Linked DNA regions of Homo sapiens: all the other regions are linked to region 2. Evidence: promoter capture Hi-C in 16 types of primary human blood cells and fetal thymus (Javierre and others, 2016). All regions are on one chromosome and are shown on one strand. The core of a region is centred on a gene start or on the middle of the fragment in contact, and the rest is flanking DNA. Distances in the headings are between cores, read along the strand shown.

The links. Contacts are between HindIII fragments. The CHiCAGO score rates a contact against its expected background, and 5 or more counts as called.
Region 1: a contact is called between a fragment that was not itself captured here and the fragment with the promoter of COL27A1 in region 2, in 1 of 17 cell types (endothelial precursors). The highest score is 7.3, in endothelial precursors.
Region 3: a contact is called between the fragment with the promoter of AMBP here and the fragment with the promoter of COL27A1 in region 2, in 1 of 17 cell types (endothelial precursors). The highest score is 7.3, in endothelial precursors.

The regions. Positions count from the first base shown.
Region 1 is chr9:114,254,159-114,257,980 of GRCh38, reverse strand. The region is part of intron 27 of COL27A1 (collagen type XXVII alpha 1 chain); the gene reads right to left. Among named protein-coding and RNA genes, the nearest start is that of MIR455, 47 kb to the right of the region's middle. The HindIII fragment of the contact is 5,623 bases long and covers 1-3,822 here.
Region 2 is chr9:114,152,951-114,157,103 of GRCh38, reverse strand. It overlaps COL27A1 (collagen type XXVII alpha 1 chain), which reads right to left and starts at 1,567. Exons shown (of 61, transcript NM_032888.4): 1 at 1,092-1,567. The coding sequence starts at 1,153. LOC105376225 (a long non-coding RNA gene) reads left to right here and starts at 2,836. Exons shown (of 5, transcript XR_930256.3): 1 at 2,836-4,009; 2 at 4,107-4,153. RefSeq lists silencers at 401-695, 1,583-1,702 and an enhancer at 3,239-3,760. The HindIII fragment of the contact is 6,106 bases long and covers 1-4,016 here.
Region 3 is chr9:114,075,984-114,079,841 of GRCh38, reverse strand. AMBP (alpha-1-microglobulin/bikunin precursor) reads left to right here and starts at 1,542. Exons shown (of 10, transcript NM_001633.4): 1 at 1,542-1,749; 2 at 3,102-3,244. The coding sequence starts at 1,633. The HindIII fragment of the contact is 5,279 bases long and covers 949-3,858 here.

The DNA of each region.
Region 1 (3,822 bases), core at 1,086-3,585, 100 kb before region 2:
AGTGATCCTCCTGCCTCAGCCTCCCAAATTGCTGGGATTACAGGTGTGAGCCACTGCATCCAGACTACAATGACATGTATGACAAAAGGTCTCCTCAAATCCTCATCTCCCTTTTTCTCCCCCACCAGAAAGGAGAATCTGGTGACCCAAGTTCTGTCCCTCACCTCCACCCTGACACCCAATATTTTCCTGAATATTTTCTCCCAGGGAAAAGAGGAGGAGGAAGAACTGAGAACACAGGCCTGGGGTGAGCTTGGGAGGCGGAGAGGGCAGAGTGGGAGAGGATCAAGAAAGAGAGAAGGAGAGGGGAGGCAGAGGCAGAGAAGTGGGTGGGGTGGCATGAGAAGGGAGCAAGGCCCAGCCCCGGGCAAATGGGCAGCCATCTTGGTTTTGATGAACAGACGACAAGAGGGGCAAGAGAGACAGGGTGAGAGGGCCAGTTTAGTTCTTGGAATTCTCGGCACCTGGCCTGGCACAGGTGCACGACAGACACTCAGGAATCTGCTGAATGAACAAGGAGCACATGAACTGAAGAGGGCAGAGGGTGGGAACGGAGGGAACACAGGAGAAGATGGGAAGCAGGCCACCCCTCTGCCTAATGTCTCCCCCGCCCCCACCCCGATTCCAGGCCCAGCTTGAGAGACCTCAAGCAGCAACTTCATCCACCGGCCAGCCAGGACCCTCTGCCAGCTCCAGGAGCCTCCCAGCTCCGCAGCAATTCTCAGACTGGGCGTGCTCCTTTTGCAAGGCAGAGCCAGTCTCATCCCTCCTCTGAATACCAGGGAGAGGCCCAGCCCCATCTGGTGCCTCAGAGCGAACTCTTGACTTTCCCATTTCCCTTTCCCCATGGCTTTGAGGGGTGTGAACCCAGCCGCTATCACCCAGCAGACCCTCCAACAGCTGCTGTGGAGGGGCTGATGTGAGGGGCTGGGTCCCAGGCTGACCCTTCGTCAGTAGAGCAAGCAGGGTGTGGACCCGGGCTTGGCCCCATAAAAGGCAGTTCTGACTCCCGGATGGTGGAGAACAGAAAGACTGGGTGAGAATGGGCCATTTTATAGAGTGATCTCAGAGCTCAGAAGGCATGCAATGCACCGCTGGGAAATTTCGGGAGCCAAGTCTCTACATCAAGGCATAGAGTGCTGAAAAGAGCAGGCTGTAGCACTGGAGAACCCGGGCTCACATGCCAGTTTGGCCACTTACTAATTGTGCCATCTTAGGCACGTTACTTCAACTCACTGGGCCTCAGTTTTGTCATCTATAACATGGGGATAGAAGAGTCCTTACCCCCTAGAGTTTCTAGAAGGTGAAGTGACAAAGTCCTCAGGAAAAGGTAGCTGCCTGCTCTCGCAAGGCAGGAGGAGGTCAGAATTGAATGCTAGACCCAACTCTGGTCACTGGGTGACCCTAGGCAGGTCCCAGGGCGACCCTAGGCAGGTCCCAGGGCCTCACTCCCACCCCCAATAATGGGGATAATAATCTTTTTTTGTTGAGATGGAGTCTTGCTCTGTCGCCCAGGCTGGAGTGCAGTGGCGCTATCTTGGCTCACTGCAAGCTCCGCCTCCCAGGTTCACACCATTCTCCTGCCTCAGCCTCCCGAGTAGCTGGGACTACAGGTGCCCGCCGCCATGCCCGGCTAATTTTTTTCTGTTTTTTAGTAGAGACGGGGTTTCACCGTGTTAGCCAGGCTGGTCTTGATCTCCTGACCTCGTGATCCGCCAGCCTCGGCCTCCCAAAGTGCTGGGATTACAGGCATGAGCCATTGCACCTGGCCTGGGGATAATAATCTTGATAGATCTCAATGTGCTATCGGACAACATGGAGGTGAAAGTGATTGATAAAGTGGGAAAATGCCAATCAGGTGTGAACAATATCACCAGAAATGTCACTTTTAATCGTAGTAGCCTTACTCATAATAGTGGCAATGATCATCTCTAACAAATAGTTATCACCATTCATGAAGCACACAGTTATGCAGGAGGGCTGTGAGACACCACATCATGCACTGCACCATTTCCGATGACAATCTCATACTCCAGGTGGCATCATGCTGACTTACAGATGGGGAAACTGAGGGTCGGAGAAGCTATGAATGTTGCCAACAATCCCGCAGCCGGCAAGTCGGGGAGCCAGAATTTCACCCCCATGTATCTGATTCTGAAGGTGGTTTTCTGGGCCTCCGAGCTAGCCGGCTTCCCCAGTGTCGCTGGCCAGGAGGAACCCCAAGAGATCCAAGGGACCAGCCCTGTACCGTAGCAGTGGGGGACCATGGCAACCTTGGGATCAGAAACAGCAGTAAGTGACCGTCTGATTTCACCAAGCCTGAGCCAACCCACTGAAGAGGGGGAAGCACTGAGGAGATGGGGTGGGGTGGGGAGGTGAGTGGAGCCAGGGAGGCAAGGGATTCAGAGGAGGCTTGCACCTTCTTCTCTGTATTGGCCTGAATATCCCCACTCTTTCCCCATCTCCCGCTGGCCTTCCATTGTGTCCCAGTGACTCCTTTCCTGGCTTTCCTCCTCCCACTAGACAGATGGGGAGACAGGCCCAGGACGGCTGAGGTGCAGGGGTGCCAGGGATAGAACTCGATGATGTACCCCCAGCATCCTTGTACTCAGGCTTCGGCCCTACTCTGGGCACCCCCCATGCTGAGGGCTCCAATCACTCTATCTCTGACCACTGGGAGGGAGGCCGGGCCCTTGCATTCCAAGCTGGGTGCCTCGGCCAGCCGTGCTAGCCCCCTGACCAGAATGCTGGTCCTCTGACCCCCTGCTTCTACCCCAACAGTCCTACTTCCACACTGCCAGCTCCTCCAGCCCTGGGCCAGATGTGACTTTTCCTCCTTCTCATGAAAAGGGCAAAAATATGTCACTGGGAGCCCAGAGTGCTGGCTTCTGCTTCCAACTGTGCTCCTCAAGAACGTTCCAACTTGTCCAAAGAATCATGAGGATGGACAGAGACCCCTGGTGCTGATGCCTTCTCCTCTGGGTGACGGTCACCTATATCCAGGCCTCTCACCCTTGGACTAGTCCACCCCTCTACCTCCTCGGCCCCTGGCATGGCCTGGCACAGAGTAGGTGCTCGATAAAAGTCTGTTAATGATGGAGAGAATGTTTATACTTGACAGCCCCACCAGACAGTGAGAGTCTTAAGAGCTGGAACTCTTTCTTACCATTTTTGTACCTCCAGGGAGGAGCTTATGCTAGCACACAGCAGGTGCATGAAAAAGTGTAGGAGCTGAGTTGGCCTTGCTTCCCTAATCACAGTAGAGAACAGGTTTATGCGAGCTTCCCCTGGGTTCAAACCATGAAAGGCTTCAGGGCCCTTCCTCATCAGACCCCAGGGAACTCCTCAGTCTGGACTTTGGAGACACCCAGGCAACCTGAGCTCATCGCCCCTCAGCCCTACCTCCGGATCTGTGCCTGGGCTGGTCCCTCTACCCCCACACCCTCCCCAACTTCCCCAAGCCCACCTCGGACTGGGCTCCCAGCCCTGACCCCTGGCTTTGGCTGAAGCGAGTGCCCTTTCCTAGTTTCCATCCTCCATTGGCAGAAACAGGGATCTGAAGCAAGTTCTACCTGCTCCAAATGAGAGCAAGCCCACCCCCACCCCCTGCACATCATCACCCCTGGGAAGGAGAAGGGGCTCTTGAACTTGAGTGCTCCTGGCCGCACCCTTCCCCCAGCTCTCCCAGCCTCTCCCACCACTCTGCCTTGAGAGCCTCCCACCAACCCTGCTTCCTCAGTCATCATGAGAAGCCCAGGCCCCTGAGGACCCTCAGCCCTGTTTGTCCAGCATTTCCCATCTTTGTGCCTGCTCTTCCAGAAC
Region 2 (4,153 bases), core at 318-2,817:
GTGTGTGTGTGTGTGTGTGTGTGTGTGTTGTGGTGAGGGGGTGCGGGGCGGGGGAATCGCAAACAGCCAGCTTTTTCCAAGACATGGGGAAGAAAGGAGGGGGTGTCATCCCGCGGACTCCAGCTCAAAGGGGGCAGGGCCCAGCTACAGCCCTAACAGCCTCTGGGGAGTGTCCTGGTGTCCTGGGGGCAGGATGGAAAGAGAGGAGCGCCGTCCACAGGCCCCAACGGGCTGCTTGCATGCTGCTGGCTCCCACACACACCCACACGCTGCGCCGGCTCCAGCACAGGCTCACTCTCTCTTACAACTCCTACTCCACACGCTGGGAATCCCAGCCTCTGGGCCCCAGCTCCGCGCAGCCGCTCCTGGGAGAGTCCCTGCCCCTCTCCGGCCCTGTCTCCCGATCTGTACACTGAGGGGTTCCGCACAGTGATCGCCCAGGGCCCTTTCTGCTCTGACATGCTGGCTCTCACTTTTTCTCTCTTACACACGTGAAAGGGACAGGAACCGAGAAGCAGGAAACACAGACACACAGACCCAGGCCGACTAACACAAACACGCGGAGATTTCCAGAAACGCGGGGACGTGCAGAGCCACACAGACACGGAGACAGGAGCAGAACCCGAGACCTGGTGACCTAGAAACTTGCGGACAATTTCACAAGAACAGATAGAAACGGAGACGTACAGGCTTGGGACCTGCAGACACTGAGACACCGGAACACACCGAGACGGCCCCAAACGGAGACCCCCCTCCTCCCCCAAGCATCCAAAAAGCCCCCCTCCGCACCCCGCCGGCCGCTCCAGGCGCCACCACCCACCCCCACCCCCGACCCCCGGGCTGGCTCTGCCCCCGCCCCAACGGGATCGGGCAGCCGGGCCAGGCGCGGCAGGGCGGGCAGCGTTCGCCAACTCTCGCCCGGCCGGGGGCGCAGCCCCTATTAACCCTTGGCGTCCCGCCTCGCGGGGGCGCAGGAAGGGGCAGGAAGCTGACGTTCCGCTGGAAGCGACCGCATGGCGGGGAACCCCGGCCCTCCCCGAGATTGGAGCAGCAGGAAGCTAGGGAGGGGGCGTCCCCGAGTTCGTACTCACCCCCCGCGCGCCGCCGCCGCCGCCGCTGTGCCTCGGGCCCCCCGCGCCGATCCCGCTCCCATGGCAGGCCCCTACTTCATGCTCCCGAGCCCGGGGGGCAAGTGTGGGCGCGCCCCATGGGGCCGCCAGCCCCCCGCCCCGCCGCGCCAGGCCGGCTTAGAGCGCGCGGCCCCCGCGCCCCCAGCGCAGCCCCGCGCCCAGGGGCGCCCGAGCAGGCAGGCAGCGCGGCTGGGGCCCCGCGGGCGCCCGCGCCAGGCCCATGGTCCCAGGAGTCCGGGCGCCGCGCTCGCCCCTGCCTCGGTCCTTTTCTGCTTCCACCAAAAAGGAAGAAGAAGCAAGAAAAAGAGAGAGAGAGATGATCAAACTTTTGGAGGCGGGCTGCTGGCGGTCCCCGGAGGCAGAGCAAGGCCGGGTGAGGGCGCGCGGAGGGCGGTGGAAGCTGCCTCCCCGCCGGCCTGGGGGAGGAGAGGAAAAGGAAGGATTTGGGGGAAATGAAGGCGATTTAAAGTCTCGGCCCGCGGTGGCTCTCCACCTTCCCTCCTCCCCGCTCCCGGCCGCCCTCTGCTGCCCCCTGCTGCCCCCTGCCGGCCGGAGCCAAGGGTACAGCCTCAGCTGGCCCACTACAGCCCCGATGGGACACCCGCCCCCCTCCTCCTTGTATAGATGGGGAAACAGATTCACAGAGAGGAAGGGGCTGCCCAGGGCTTCACGGTGATTTGATCACCGTTCTGAGATTAGGAACTTCTGACTGGTGAGGCTGGGGGTCCTCCAATGGGGGGTTGGGGTAGGGGAGAAGGGCCAAATTCTACTCCTGGAAGAAACCCACAGTTTCAGGGACGGAGCTAGGACCAGAACTTGGTGTCCAGACGCCCACGACAACCAGTATCGTGATCCCCACCGCCCACCAAAAGTTTGCGCTCCCAGACTCGGAGCGCCCTGGAGAACATATAGGGTGGGCTTGTTAAGGGTTTGCCACCCTCTCTCTCCCTTCTGTCAGCAATTGGAATCTAACCGCACCCCACCACCACCACTAACCACGCACCTCCCCAGAATCGACAAAAACTCCCTCGGATCCCATCCGGGAGCTAAGAGCTGCACACCTTGGCCCCCGGGCAAATTCTCACACCCAAAACTCCAGTCCAGCCCTGGGACCACAGCTCCCTCCGCCTCTACCACCTCTTGCCACTCGTTCACGAGCAAAGTTACACTTATTCACCGGTGCACACACACACTCCCACACGTATCCACCCTTTCCCCAAACTCAGACACACGCTCACACACGGTCCCATTCTGGGACAGCCACGCACCCTTCCTAGGTTCACACGAAACGCATCCTCAGATATCTGGGCTCAGGCGCACGCTGATACTCTACACTCGCAGAAGCATGCACACGGATGCTTACACAGGCACAAATGCACGCTATCCTGGCCATATCGCCCCCACACATGTACACACCCCGGGTGGACACACGCGCGCACACCCTCACTTGCACACAGTTCTCCGAGAGTGCCCACCGCACATGTGCACACACGCATTCACTCCTCACGCGTGTACCCACCTCCCCATACGCGCACACCTTTAGGCGCGCGCACACACAGGCATATAACACTTCGCACCGCTCCAGGAGCCCCCAAGCACTTACTGGGTCCCTACGTGCGAGGCTGGCCGGTCGGTCCTTCCTCCGGCGCCTAACGGCATTTGTATTCATGGGTCCCCGCAGCCGTGGGCGCGGGGGCGGGGGGCGAGGTCCCCTTCCCTAAACGGGGCGCGGGCGCGCGGAGCGCAGCGGCACCGGGAGGGGCATGGGCGCGCGGGACTGCGCCGCCGACCCGGTCCGCCTGCGCTCGAACTTCGGCAGCTCTGCGTCCACGGGCTCCGGCGCGGGCTCCGAGAGCTGGGGGCGGCTCATAGGTGCTGGGGCGGCGGCGCCCGCCGGGCCTTTTGAAGTCTCCGCTGGGGGCGGGGAGGGGGCGCTGAAGGCGGCCTTTTAAACCCTGGCTGCACGCGGGCTCGGTCGAGCAAGGTGTCTGGTTTCAACAAACTTTAGGAAAAGTCCCAAGCCGAGAGAGGGGAGGTAGGGGGGTTGGGGGAGCTGCATAGCTGTGCGCTGCTTCCTGCAGAGGGCAGAGCACCCATGGCTGCCAGGAGGGAGGCCAGTCGCGGGACTGGGGAACTGGCAGGCTGCTGGCCGGCGCGTGGAACCACCCCCGCCACCCCCGCACCCCCAATGTTGAACCAGAGTTCTTAACTTCCATGTGCACGAACCCCAGGGAGTGCAGGAACACCCCCAAACTGTGCACAAATTGAGCATGTTTGTGCATTCTTCAGGGGAGAGGGGCCGTGGGCTTTCCTCCGGTTTTCAGAAGTCCACGGCCCCCTAAGGTTGAGAACTCCCTCTTCAATCATAACTGATGTTTTTTTAGTTGCATACTTGGTACCATGCAGACCCTGTCTTTATTTACATTTTAGATATTTTGTTCATTGTGGGGTTTTGCATTAATTTTGATACTTTTAAAAATATTTTAAAAGTAAAAAATTAAAATATTATTTTGATTACTTAGGGGTTTGGGGCACTGCTTTGGGCAATTTACCTCCGTTGCTGAGTTTTCTTGGCATCTCCTGGTATGCTGCATCTCTGCATGTGCCACACCCTAGTCCAGACCCTGACCCACACAGTGCTGGGGTTTAAGGGAGGCCTGCTTTTTTCTCTCCATTTACAGATGGGAAAGCTGACATAAACGGGTAGGTGGTAGAGGTGGGATTTGAACCCAGGTAACCTAACTCCAAACTTCTGCATCTTGTCATAAGGATCCAAATCTTAGGCTTTAAGGGGTTCTGTGCAGATCCTCAGCAGCCTCCCCAGCTTCAGATCCGGCCTCCTGAGCTCCAGTCTCTCTGATACCTGCACCCAGGCTCAGGTAAGCTTGACTACTTCGATGCTTTCTCCATACTGTTTCCTCCCAGGTTCTCCCTCTGCCCCTTTTCTGCCTGTTCACAACCTGGTTATTCTTCTAGGTGCAGGCCAGAGCTCACCTGACTCTGGTGAGCTGCTCTGCCCTACA
Region 3 (3,858 bases), core at 293-2,792, 77 kb after region 2:
GTCTCTACTAAAAATACAAAAATTAGCCAGGCATGGTGGTGGGCACCTGTAATCTCAGCTACTCGGGAGGCTGAGGCACAAGAATCACTTCAGCCCAGAATGTGGAGGTTGCAGTGAGCCGAGATCGCACCACTGCACTCCAGCCTGGGCGACAAGAGTGAAACTCCGTCTCAAAATAATAAATAAATAAATAAAACCTTAAGTTTAATAACTACTGTATTAGTTTCCTAGGGCTGCTAGGAAATGTGTCTTCTCTCAGCACTGGAGGTCAGACACCTGAGACCAAATTTTCAGCAGAGCCATGTTCCCTTTGAAGATTCTGGGGAAAAGTCCTTCCTTGCCTTTTGCTAGCTTTTGGTGGCTGCCATCAATCCTTGGTGATTTTTGACGTGTCACTGCATCCCTCCCATCTCTGCCTTCGGCGTCACGCCACATCTTCCCCGTGCTTCTCTCTGTGTCCCTGTGTCTGAGTCTCCCTCACCATTCTCTTATAAAGATACCGGTCATTGGATTTAAAACCCCTGTCATCCAGTTCAACCTCATCTAACTAATCACATCTGCAAATCAGGTTCATTCTGCGGTTCGGGGTGCACATGGATTCTGGAGGGGGCACTGTTCAACCCACCACAAACACTCAGCTCTTACTCTATGCTGGGTACTGTCCTAGCGCATTGCAGGTGCTCACTCAACAATGCTAGGAGCTAGGAACTATTATTATCCCCATTTACAGATGAGGAAACCAAGGCACTGAAAGGTAAAGTGACTTGCCCAAGGTCACACAGCAGTGAGTGCCACTGTAGGCTGCCTGGCTCCCACGTCCATGGTCTCTACCACGCCTTTCCCAGCTACTCCACTCCCGGCTGAGGGATTCTGGGCAAGTCACTTCACTTCTTGGAGACTCAACTCCTCTGCCTGTAAAGGGGACAAATAGCACCTACTTCGTAAGCTTGTTGTGGGGATTTACTGGACACCTGTGGCACGTGTAAAGTGCCTGGTACACAGCCAGCACATAGCAGGTGCTCAGTGAACGGAAGCTCGTAACAGTCATCATTGTTAATGTCTCTATTATTTGCAAAGGCTAGGGCAAGCCTGGGGGCTGGAGAAGGAACTCTGGAGACAGGATACCTGGGTTCTGGTCTTGGCTCTGCCCATAGACTTCCCTGAGGTCTCTGGCAAGTCACTTCCTCTCCTTGGGCCTCAGTTTTTTCCTGTGAGAAATGGGCCCAATCAGGCTTGACCTGCTGGCTCACAGAGCTGTGAGGTCCAGATGGCATGACTCAGCAGAAAGGCCAGGTCGCTCCCCATCCTCGCATGCCCTCTGTGGGGGACTTTTGGGGGGCGGAGCCCAATCCTGGTGCTCCAGGGCCCTATTGTGCTTGGCCAATGCCTCTTCTGAAGCAGCCATCCCGGCCTCTTGGTACTGCTGACCCCAGCCAGGCTACAGGGATCGATTGGAGCTGTCCTTGGGGCTGTAATTGGCCCCAGCTGAGCAGGGCAAACACTGAGGTCAACTACAAGCCACAGGCCCCTTCCCCAGCCTCAGTTCACAGCTGCCCTGTTGCAGGGAGGCGGTGGCCCTTCTGTTGCTAGACCGAGCCTGTGGGATATACCAAGGCAGAGGAGCCCATAGCCATGAGGAGCCTCGGGGCCCTGCTCTTGCTGCTGAGCGCCTGCCTGGCGGTGAGCGCTGGCCCTGTGCCAACGCCGCCCGACAACATCCAAGTGCAGGAAAACTTCAATATCTCTCGGGTAAGGCTGCCGCTCTCTGTGGTAGGGTGGATGTGGTGATGGGGAGTCCAGGCAGATGGGCCCTGCTGGGCAAGTGCGGCCTGTCTCGGGGTCTCAGGCTTCCACTCAGATCATCTGGGATTATGGGATCCTTTGAAGGTACAGCTCTATCCCCTGCCATTCCGTGGGTCTCTTGGCTGACATTCTATGAGTCAAACATCCTCACCTTCTGCACTGTCCTCGTGGGCTCCAAGGGGAACCCTTGTGTTAATGGGAACCTGCTCCAGAGAAGGCTTTGTCCTGCCTGCCACTGCCCTGCAGCCCCCGTGCAGACACCTAGCTTTGCCCAGACCTCCCAGCCCTTCCTTCTCTAATGACTCCCCTCTCTCTGTGGCATCTTTCCCTTAGCTCTTCCTGTGTCCCCTGCCCACATCCTGGCCTGACTGTGGACAGACACCTGGGGTGGCACAGCGTGGGCATGTGGCCAGCAGCTTTTGGGTTGGGCATGTGGGGCTTATGGGAAGAGGTGAAGCAGGACAGAGATTAGGGTTGGGAGACATTCAGAGGCTTGGGCACAAGGAGAGACCTGGACTGGGGCAGGACACTCTCCTGTGAGTGTGGAGTGCCAGAGCTGCCTTCCAGCCCCCACTCTGCCCTAAATCCCGGGGTGGCTTTGAGAATACCCTTGCCCACCTGGGGCTGTCTCCATGTCTGTATGAAGGGTCTCAGAACCTTCTAGCTGTGGTGTCATGTGGGTTTTGTTTACTTTTAGGGACAAGGAAAGGTCGTGGCAGAGGGGCAATGAGGAGCAGGTCCCTGTGGCAGTCTGGGACGCAAAGGGTGTGGGGCACATTGGCCTGTTCCGTAGGAGCCTGAGGGCTCCTTCAGCTGTCCCGTGCACTTTCAGGAGGAAGAGGAAGCAGGCCTATCCTGAATGACCCCATCATGTTCATTATACTTTTGAAATAATTCCTAACATGGGGCTGTGGGCTGCCTTGCAAGGTGGGGAGCACCCCATCATTGGAGGAGTAAAAGACAGGACTCCAGCTCTTGGGGAGCAGTGGTTGATGGAGCTATGGACAGATCCCACATCTTGAGAGAGTTAGCCCTTCTGCAGGGCAGGTTGGGACCCCAGCCGCACACCTGCTTCCTGGGTTCGCTGTGATGCCTGAAACGCCACTCTTAGGGATCTGGCCTCCCTTGAAGGTGTGTGGCCTCTGATTAGTTGTAAGACATTATCCCTTAAAAGGATAAGTCATTTTGAGGAGAAGGAGGAGGAAGAGGAGGAGGTGGAGGGTGGGGAGCAGATGTCAGCCAGGTCTGCTTTGAGGTCTGAGACTGATGCAGACCCCCAGAGCTCACCTGCCTCCTAGATCTATGGGAAGTGGTACAACCTGGCCATCGGTTCCACCTGCCCCTGGCTGAAGAAGATCATGGACAGGATGACAGTGAGCACGCTGGTGCTGGGAGAGGGCGCTACAGAGGCGGAGATCAGCATGACCAGCACTCGTTGGCGGTGAGCACTAGGGTGGGGCTGGAAAGCTGAGAGAGACCCAGAGACCCACAACCTTCCCAGCCCCGTCCATCCTGGGAAGTTGCAGATCTCTGCTTCCAGTCAGGACCTTCCCGCTGAACCCCAGATCCCTCTACGCTCCTCCACCAGGACGGCCCTTTTCAGGTGTCCTATCTATTCCTCGAGGGCAGTGTCCCAGCACTGTGCCTGTTCTGCAAACTGCTCCTCCCCCTTGGGCATTCCTTAGCCCAGTGTGGGTACTTCAGCCCCCCAGGGACCCAACCTGGGAACTGGGCTCCTCTCTCCCCTGTCACCCATCATCAAGTCCTGCCCATTCTCCTCCTAAATCCCCCCCAACCTGTTCACTTCTCCCCTCTCCACTGCCACCATCCTGGTCCAAGCCACCTCCCTTTCTTTCCTGGTTGTCTGCCACAACCTCTCTACTCTTTCCTCACCTCTGACCTCCACCCTTCCACCCCATCCCCTCTTCACCCAGTAACCAGAAAGACCTTTTGAAAACTCACATCTGCTCGAGACCCTTCCATGACTCCCCAATGCCCTGGGAGTAAGATTCAAACTCTTGATGTGGCTTTCCAGGACCCTCCCAGCACCCAGAA